Linked DNA regions of Homo sapiens: regions 1 and 2 are each linked to region 3. Evidence: promoter capture Hi-C in 16 types of primary human blood cells and fetal thymus (Javierre and others, 2016). All regions are on one chromosome and are shown on one strand. The core of a region is centred on a gene start or on the middle of the fragment in contact, and the rest is flanking DNA. Distances in the headings are between cores, read along the strand shown. Region 1 has its middle 120 kb from the start of HNMT. Region 2 has its middle 140 kb from the start of HNMT. Region 3 holds the start of THSD7B (thrombospondin type 1 domain containing 7B).

Region 1 (2,700 bases), core at 190-2,689, 1.1 Mb after region 3:
ATAGTTAACATTTTTTACTATTTAAGACCTACTATGTGGCAGGTACTGTGTGAAGCATTTTACATTCCTTTTCTTATTTAAAATTCCTCCAAACCCCATGTGGTAGGAACTATGAGTATCTCAACTTTACGAAAGAAATAATAACTTAAAGAGGATAAGTAATTTCCTTATTTAATGTAGATACTTACGGGCAAAGCCAGGATTTGAACCTCATTCTGCCTGGCACCAGCGTGTTTGGACAATCTTTCTTCAGGCATGGTTATACTCATGACAAACATGATTCATTTATTAAAATAACATTATAGAAGTCCAGGAAAAAGGTGGCTCCAGGGCAAATGGAAAAGAGGAAAAGATGTAAGATAAATTACTAAATTGAATACAAGAGGAGAGATGAGGATTCGAGAACAACTTCAAGTGTTTAAACATGAGATAAAAGGAGAACAGTAGCACCACTAGTGGAAATAGTAAAAACTAGAGAATAAACTTGTCTCCAGTAATAAAAAGTTTTGGCTCGACAATGGTAAAACAGTATGGGCTTATTTTAGACCAAAGTCCAAGTTTTATAATTGTATCCCTTGAGTCCAGCAATTACCAAAATAATGTTATTAAGGATGAGATGTTTCCAGGGGGCGGCTTGACCACAGTGCCTATCTTCTCTTCTTCCTAAGATCAGCATACACAGCAATAAGTCTACACACTATTTGGTGAACTAGCTCAACTACTGTGGGCATTTGTATCCTGGATCAAGGATATTCAGTTTCAATCATATAGAATTTCCCTGACACTAATGAGATTACTTCTCTTTAGTTATTCCTATTGATTATCAATCCTCCTTCATGTAAACCAAAGTCCCCATCAAGTTTCAAATGCCTTGTTTTTAAATATGAGCCAAAAAAAAAAAACCCAAGAAGCTACAAGCACACAAGAAAATTAACATATAAATGCAAAAGAAAAAATAAGTATAAAATAGGAAGAAAGAAAGGAAGGTAGGAAAAAGGAAAAGAGGAAGGAAGGAAGGAAGGAGGGGAAGGAGGGAGAAAAACCAGAGAAAGTTGAGATTTAAAAGAATAGAAAATGGCTTAAAATAATAAAATAAAATATTGATTACTGTTCTCAGAGAGAGTCCTGAAGATATTTAATTTATAAAACCACTGTTGTGGCCCTTAGAAATCATTACTTCTAATGTCTTTTGTTGATAGTGTTTATTGAAAAGAAAAGTATTTGGATGAATGCTTGTTGCTTAAGGGCTTTTGCTTGAAAATTGCAATATTAATTGTCAGTACTTTTATAGAAAACATCATTGAATGACTATATCTGTGACACAAAAATGAAGGGGATAGTTTTAATTTGAAGCATTTTCTTTATCACAAATTACATATCTAGCAGAATTCACAGCCCTTCAAATAAGGTTTGCAATTACAGGAAACTTATCTCTACAAGCCCCTTGAGAAGCCCTGGACTGGATTCCATGATTCCAGCAGGTATCTCTTAGAGGCATCACCTCTTACAGGACTCACCAAAGCTCTTGCTAGGTAATCTGCAGAAGTATAATAAACTTTAAATAATAGCCTCATGAAGACATCATAGTTTACTGGAAGTCACTATTATGGGCAACTAATCTGCAAAGCACATTTTCTTATATCCTCCAAACTTTGCAGCGGTGCTACAAAAATCTAGGTATGGAATTAGGAAATCAGCATTAAAATTACAGCCGTTTACCATTTGATTTTAAATAAGTCAATTACCATTCTGAGTTGTGGTTTCTATGTAAACCATGAATACAGTAATACCCTTATAGCATAAATTGCTAAAAAAAAATAAATTTAAAAATTTTAAAGCGCTATCATGATAAATAGCATATAGAAACTCTATTATATTGAAGATAATTTGTCGCATGGGCATTAATTAAAATTTCCATATAAAATCAAGATCATTACACATTATCATCATAAAAACTGAATATATCTGTTATTTTATCCACCCCAAACAGGTCTAGCTTTATTTTTAAAAAATCTATGTGTACCCCAAACCCTCTCTGTTCTATTAGAGAGATAGACATTAATTTTGAGCAGATAACCCCTACTAAAACAAAAACACACACACAACATGAAATACATGATCTTAATGATAAAATATGAGGTTTCAACAATATAAAAACCCAAGATTAATCTCTAATTCTGTCATATTTGGAAGATAATGATTTTATCTCTTTAAATGTAAGATATAGACATTTGAAGTGATGATTTATAAGATCTACACCACTTTGGAGCTTAAGCTCTAAATATTTGTAATAATCATCCAACCTGGCCATAACTGTGAATAAAATTGGTCCAAAACATAGATTTTATTTTTTTCTAGATTTTTCTTTATATCTATAAATATTTTTAGAATAGTAAATTTACCTTTTGAGCAAAATTATGGTATCTCTCAATTAATCATGTAGAGAAAATATTTATGATCTTCATAAAACTTTCCTTGCCTTATAAACTCCACGATACTACAGAAAATGTCACCAACACAATTACAGCCAATTTTTTTGTTGAATATTCTTGGCAAAGTTCCTCAAAATGTTAAACATTAGAGTTAGTACATGACCCAACAATTTCACTCCTATATATCCTAAAGAAGTGAAGATATATATTCACGCAGAAACTTGTACATAGGTTATAGCAGCATTATTCATAATAGCCAAAAAGCAGA
Region 2 (2,700 bases), core at 154-2,653, 1.1 Mb after region 3:
GAATTAACAAGGTTAATGGAAGTTGCAAATTCCAAAAAATTTCTAAAGCCAAACAGAATTTTAAAGAAAAAAGGAGGGCAGGGCTTAAGGCATACTGAAAAGATTAACAACATTCAAAGTTCAATTTAGCAAGAACCTGCATAACAAAGGTCAAGATTATCCTGACCCATTCAATGTTCAGATGAGGAGTGAAAAGGATAATAGAGTCAGGATGACTCAACCACGAAAACAGGTAACTAAAAAATGTGCCAGTACCATTAGCAGTGCTAAGAAATTTAGAAGAGCTAGTCTGGGTGGAAAGAAGGCAGTAAGTCTGGATTTTAGACATTTTGGATTGGAGAGGTCAAATAGAATAGCTAAACATATTTTGTGTAGTTTTTTGCCTCAGGCCTACTCTTTTCTTTTTTTCTTTTTTGAGACAGGGTCTCACTCTGTCACCCAGGCTGGAGTACAGTGGCACGATCCCAGCTCACTGCAGCCTCCAACTATTGGGCTTAAGCTATCTTCCTGCTGCAACCTCCCAAGTAGATGGGACTACAGGCATGCACCACACTCAGCGAATTTCTTTCGATTTTTCTTTAGAGATGGGGTCTCGCCATGTCACCCAGGCTGGTCTCCAACTCCTGGGCTCAAGCAATTCTTCTGCCTCGGCCTCCCAAAGTGCTGGAATTACAGGTATGAGCCATCGCACTCGGCCCATTTAAGTCTTATAATTACTCTTTGAAGTGGAAACTATTATTATTATCCCCGTTTTACTGGGAGAACAACTATGACTTAGCGATATTAAAAATAGCTAATTATACCATTCGCTAGTAAGTGGCAAAATCCAAATGAAGATAGTCTTCTGATGCAAAGCTGATCAACCACTGAGTCAGTGAGCAAATTCCAACCAAAAGGTCTTTCTGAGAGCAGCCACAGAGGCTTTGGTTTATCCACCTAGTCATGGGAGAAGGAGCCACAGGAAGAAAACAAAATTGTTCAAAGGGAACACAGACATATAAAAAAAAAAGGCAGCCCTGAAGAAAATGTTGAGACAGACCAATTTGAGTGAGTAGTGGGAAAGGGGAAGGAGTAAGAATATGGAGAATGGGAGAAATTAGGGAAGACAGGATGTGTGTTATGAAAAACAAGAAACAAGTTCTGAGAAAAATGCATAATCCACAATGTAAATTGTTGCCAAAGGGGATAACAACTAGAAGGTTATGGGGAACTTTGGGATAATAATGACAAACAAGTAAAACATGCTTATTATGTGTTAGGAACTGTTTTAAGTACTTTACATGAATTAATCATATAATCATCACAGCAAGTTTATTACCCCATTTCACAGAGAGAAGCTGATGCACAGAGAAGCAATGCCCAGCTAAAATAATTAAATGGCAGAAAATTTGCCTGAGATGGCTCTGACACCCTGGGTTCTAGAGTAAGCAAGCCAAAACCTGGTACAGAACTTAAAAGAAAACAAAACTTAATCTCAGCCAATCACAGGCAGGCTAGTGGGCATTAGGTAATATTGTCTTGAACTTCCTGTTAAGATATTCTAAATAAGGCATTTGCTCACACTTTAGCCAATCAGATAATTTATTTTATTTGCTCTTACATTCACCCTATAAAACTTCCCCTCATGTCCCTTTTTAGTGCTATGAACCATTTCTAGTTTTAAGCTGTCTGATTCATGAATTACTATCTGCTCAAATAAACTCTTTATCTTTTAACAGCCAAAAGTCACTCAGATCGTAAGTAGCAGAGCTGTGATACAACCCAGTGAGTCCAATCCAAGTATATATATCCTTCATTGTGCCACAGTTTCAGGAGAATGGCACCTGCACTGACCAGATGATAGCATGTTGACAAATGACTAAATGTTATTATTTTCCCTCTTGCTATCCAGTGGTTAATGGGATAACCTGGCTTAGGGATCTTCCTTTGTTGCCGACTCATTTTTTAAAAAGCCAAGGAGCTGGAGTCCAGCAAGGGTCAGCGTAGTTGTGCTGCAATGACCACACTTTAGTTTCTGTGGCTCTGGGGACTGACTGCTGGACTCTTTTGACAAGTGAACCAAAGCCTTAAAGGTCAGGACCAGTGTTTCTCTGGGAGTTGCTTAACTCCCTCTCCCCTTTTTTCCTGATGTATTTTCCTTCAAAATAGCAGAGAAGCCAAGTAGACCCACATATTTGGTAAGAAGGAGAAGAGAGGATGCTGGTGAAGAACAGGAGTCTGAGTCGGTGCTAAACAAGAGGAGATCCCAGTGTCAATTACAAGGGCCTTTTTCATTATGAGTCAGGCCTTTGCTACTTGATTTGAGGCACAGTACATAGAGGTTTAGGGTTAACCCTACCTAACCACAGAGAGGCAGCTGCTGGAACCAATGAAAAAGAATGATTGCAAACAACACTCACCAATCATTTGTCTCCACAAGAAGACCCTCTTAGTCATTCCTTACTGTTCCTATTCATTAATTCCTTTGAGAAGGGCCATTGCTTGTGAGCTTTGGTTGAAAAGCTCAGCATTTTTCCTGAGAGGAATTCTACGTTACCCCATTAGCTGGAGCAAAGTGGAAGTGAGGTCATCCTGGAGGCCCCAAAAGGGGTCTGGTTCTGGGGAGGAACTGAGCTTGATTTGAATAACTGCTTTTGCCAGCTCAGCCCCAAAGCCTCAAATTTCTCATCTCTTATGTTGCTGAATTTATGGCTTCTACAG
Region 3 (2,725 bases), core at 101-2,600:
ACATCAAGCTTTAATTTTATCATTATTATTTTGCTTCATTTTAAGCACCCATGGTGTGCCAGGCATTGGATAAAATAGAAAAGATACAATCCCTGCTGTCGCTGGGCTCACACATTTAAAGAGATTTGACAGGCAAAATATCCTGTAATTGGCAATAGGTAGTCCTCATGCTTCCCCCCGCCCCTTCTCCCTTTTGAAGCAACTTCATCTCTCTGAACAAGCTTAAGAAGTTCCCTAGATCAAAGGTGTCAAAAACCAGAAGGGTTTGGAACAAGTGTCAGAGAGTAAGCAAACGACTTTCTGAGCTGTGACTCTGCTCCTCGACTGCCCACGTGCTCTCCGCTGTCTGCACTCCTGCCTCACCTGGGCTGACTCGGACTCTCCACCTCCTTTGCTGCTTCCGGCATGAGCTACCCAGGAGCCTAAGGCGCTCCTTCCCGCAACTCCGGTCCCCGCGCCCCGGGACTGCAAATCCTTTAAACAGAGGCCCCAGAGCTAGGGGTTTTCCCAGGCTCTGGTGGGCGTGGGCTGACAGTCGCTGGGAGCCCCGCAACAGGGGGGATGTCCAGGCAGGTATGCACCCAGCTCCCGGCGTTTCCCGGAGTCACCACAATGTTTCCCTTTCTCTCTCCCCCACGTATGCTGCTAGGGGTACTCCCCAGATAGGATTTTCTTTGTCTTTTCTCCTAGTAACACCGAAGCCCTCTCGTGCCCGGGGACTGCAGAGGAACGCCAGACCATCCGGACCTTGCGGGATGGCTCGGTGTGTGTGTTTTACTGTGTGTCGGAGTGTCGCGCATGTGTGCGTGTTGGGGCGCGTTATCAACAGGGGCCTAGGGCACCCCCACTCTTTCTTGCTCTCTTCCCCCATCACTTCATGGACCTCCGAGGCGCAAAGCGCTCGACCCTCTCCTGGGCTCAGTGGCTTGGGTACTCCGGGCTGAGCTCAGCTGGGGAGTCCCCTTACCCAGCCCGCACCGGCACCCCGAAGCTTCAAAGTTGCGGCAAACAGTTGCGGGGAGCAGAGGAACTGAGGTCCAGGCCAGCGCGCCCGCGGTCGCTCGCCTTGGGGAGCAGGCTGAGCCGAGGGTCGTGCGGGTGCGCGGCAGAGGCGGTAGGAGGCGGAGGAGAGGGGGGAGAAAGAGGGGGCGGTGGGGAACAGCTGCCGGGGTAGGCGAGGCGCAAGGTGGCTCCCCGCGGCCCCGCGCCCCGCGGCTCTCGGACGCACCAGGCAGCCAATGGCTGCGCAGAGGTGTACAGCAGATGGCGTCTGACTGCGCCGTTCCTTCCTCCTCCTCCTCCTCCTCCTTCTCTTCCTCCTCCTCCTTCTCTTCCTCCTCCTCCTCCTTCAGTGCTGAGGAGCCAGAGTCGCCGCCGGGTTGCCAGACGCTGGAATGGGTGGTCTTCCGACACACACCACCATCTTTCTTGCGCTCGGGAAGCTCGGGGCTCAGCGGCTCCCAGAGGTTACGGCGGCGGCTCTGGCGAGACGGGTGAGTGCAAGCACGCGGAGCCCCGAGTCGGGGATGCCGGGCCCCCTGGCCGGCCGACTGGGGCGCGGGGTGGCAGCGCCGGGGAAGGGGGCGCGCTGCCGGCGCAGACTTTGCTCTTTCCTCGCCGGACAGCCATCGTCGCCCCTTCTCCCAGCCAGACGCGGGAACTTGGAAGCGGATCTTCTCGGACGCCTCTGGCTTGGGGCTGCGGGAAGCGTGGGCTGCCCGGGGCGCAGTGTGCGGAGACCCTCTAGGCGGGCGGGGACGCCCCACGCGGCGACCTGAGCACCGACCTCATGCAACGGGACCGAACCTTGGGACCCGGGCAGCAGGAGCTCTGTTCCCTTCACCTCCAGCTTGGTTTGAGGGATACTGATGAAGGAAACCGGGGGTTTCCCGTCCTGCGCGGAGAGCCTCGGCGCCCAAAATCGAAAGGCCGGGAGTTGTTCTGCAGGCTTTGCAAACAGGTTGACTGAGGGTTTCCTTTCCCGTAGCGCTGACTGCGAAATCTGTGCATAGGCGTTCAGTGCCAGTGGAGGATAGCTGAGCAAGCCAAGAAGTTTTGCAGCTTCCTCTGATTTATCGGTGGAGTGTCAGGAGGCTGTAGCAACAGTTTACATTTCCCCTGTCCCTGCGAGTGGCTAGGGGCAAGCTGGGCTCGGACGTGATATCCTGCTGTTTGTGGAGAGGAAACTGGGAACGGGGCTTGAGAGTGAGGGGCAGGGAGGGGGGGACAGGCATATTTTCTACTGCATCGCCCATCTGCACCTGTCCCCTTTGCTGTCTTACATGTCCCATAGTATTAAAGTTATTTGAATAAGCAAATGAACCCCGCTCTTTGGTGACCGCGTATTTTGAAGTTGGAAAACTTTGCAGGGGACGAGGGAATGTTGAGGAGGGGGCGTTAAGCTCTCTCACTCTATCCCTTTTTAAAGACAAGAAAAAAACTTTCGTTGGCGAAGGTGGTACTTTTTTCTTTTGGAATGTCTGAGCTCAGAGCTTCCCATAAGAGGTATTGCGATTCAATACTGTACAGTCAAGGTGAAGTTCCACTAAGATTATGGGACCGTGGCATATTCTACGGAAGATACCAGGGTTCCTTGGCGCTCTGTTCATTGCCAGGGTGGTCTGCTGAAAGCCGGCAGTTTCCCACCCTCAGACTCCTTGGAGCTCTTTAAATGACGGTCTGCCTGGTGTTTCTCAGCGGTACACCTGTGAGTGCTCTGTTATCA

What was found. The method cuts DNA at HindIII sites, captures the fragments that hold promoters and counts their contacts. A CHiCAGO score of 5 or more calls a contact.
Region 1: a contact is called between a fragment that was not itself captured here and the fragment with the promoter of THSD7B in region 3, in 1 of 17 cell types (M2 macrophages). The highest score is 5.3, in M2 macrophages.
Region 2: a contact is called between a fragment that was not itself captured here and the fragment with the promoter of THSD7B in region 3, in 2 of 17 cell types (M0 macrophages and M2 macrophages). The highest score is 7.4, in M0 macrophages.

The regions. Positions count from the first base shown.
Region 1 is chr2:137,848,058-137,850,757 of GRCh38, forward strand. No RefSeq gene overlaps it. Among named protein-coding and RNA genes, the nearest start is that of HNMT, 120 kb to the right of the region's middle. The HindIII fragment of the contact is 6,731 bases long and covers 1-2,700 here.
Region 2 is chr2:137,824,560-137,827,259 of GRCh38, forward strand. No RefSeq gene overlaps it. Among named protein-coding and RNA genes, the nearest start is that of HNMT, 140 kb to the right of the region's middle. RefSeq lists an enhancer at 2,158-2,217. The HindIII fragment of the contact is 4,775 bases long and covers 1-2,700 here.
Region 3 is chr2:136,764,195-136,766,919 of GRCh38, forward strand. It overlaps THSD7B (thrombospondin type 1 domain containing 7B), which reads left to right and starts at 1,351. Exons shown (of 28, transcript NM_001316349.2): 1 at 1,351-1,493. RefSeq lists an enhancer at 1,333-1,834. The HindIII fragment of the contact is 11,987 bases long and covers 990-2,725 here.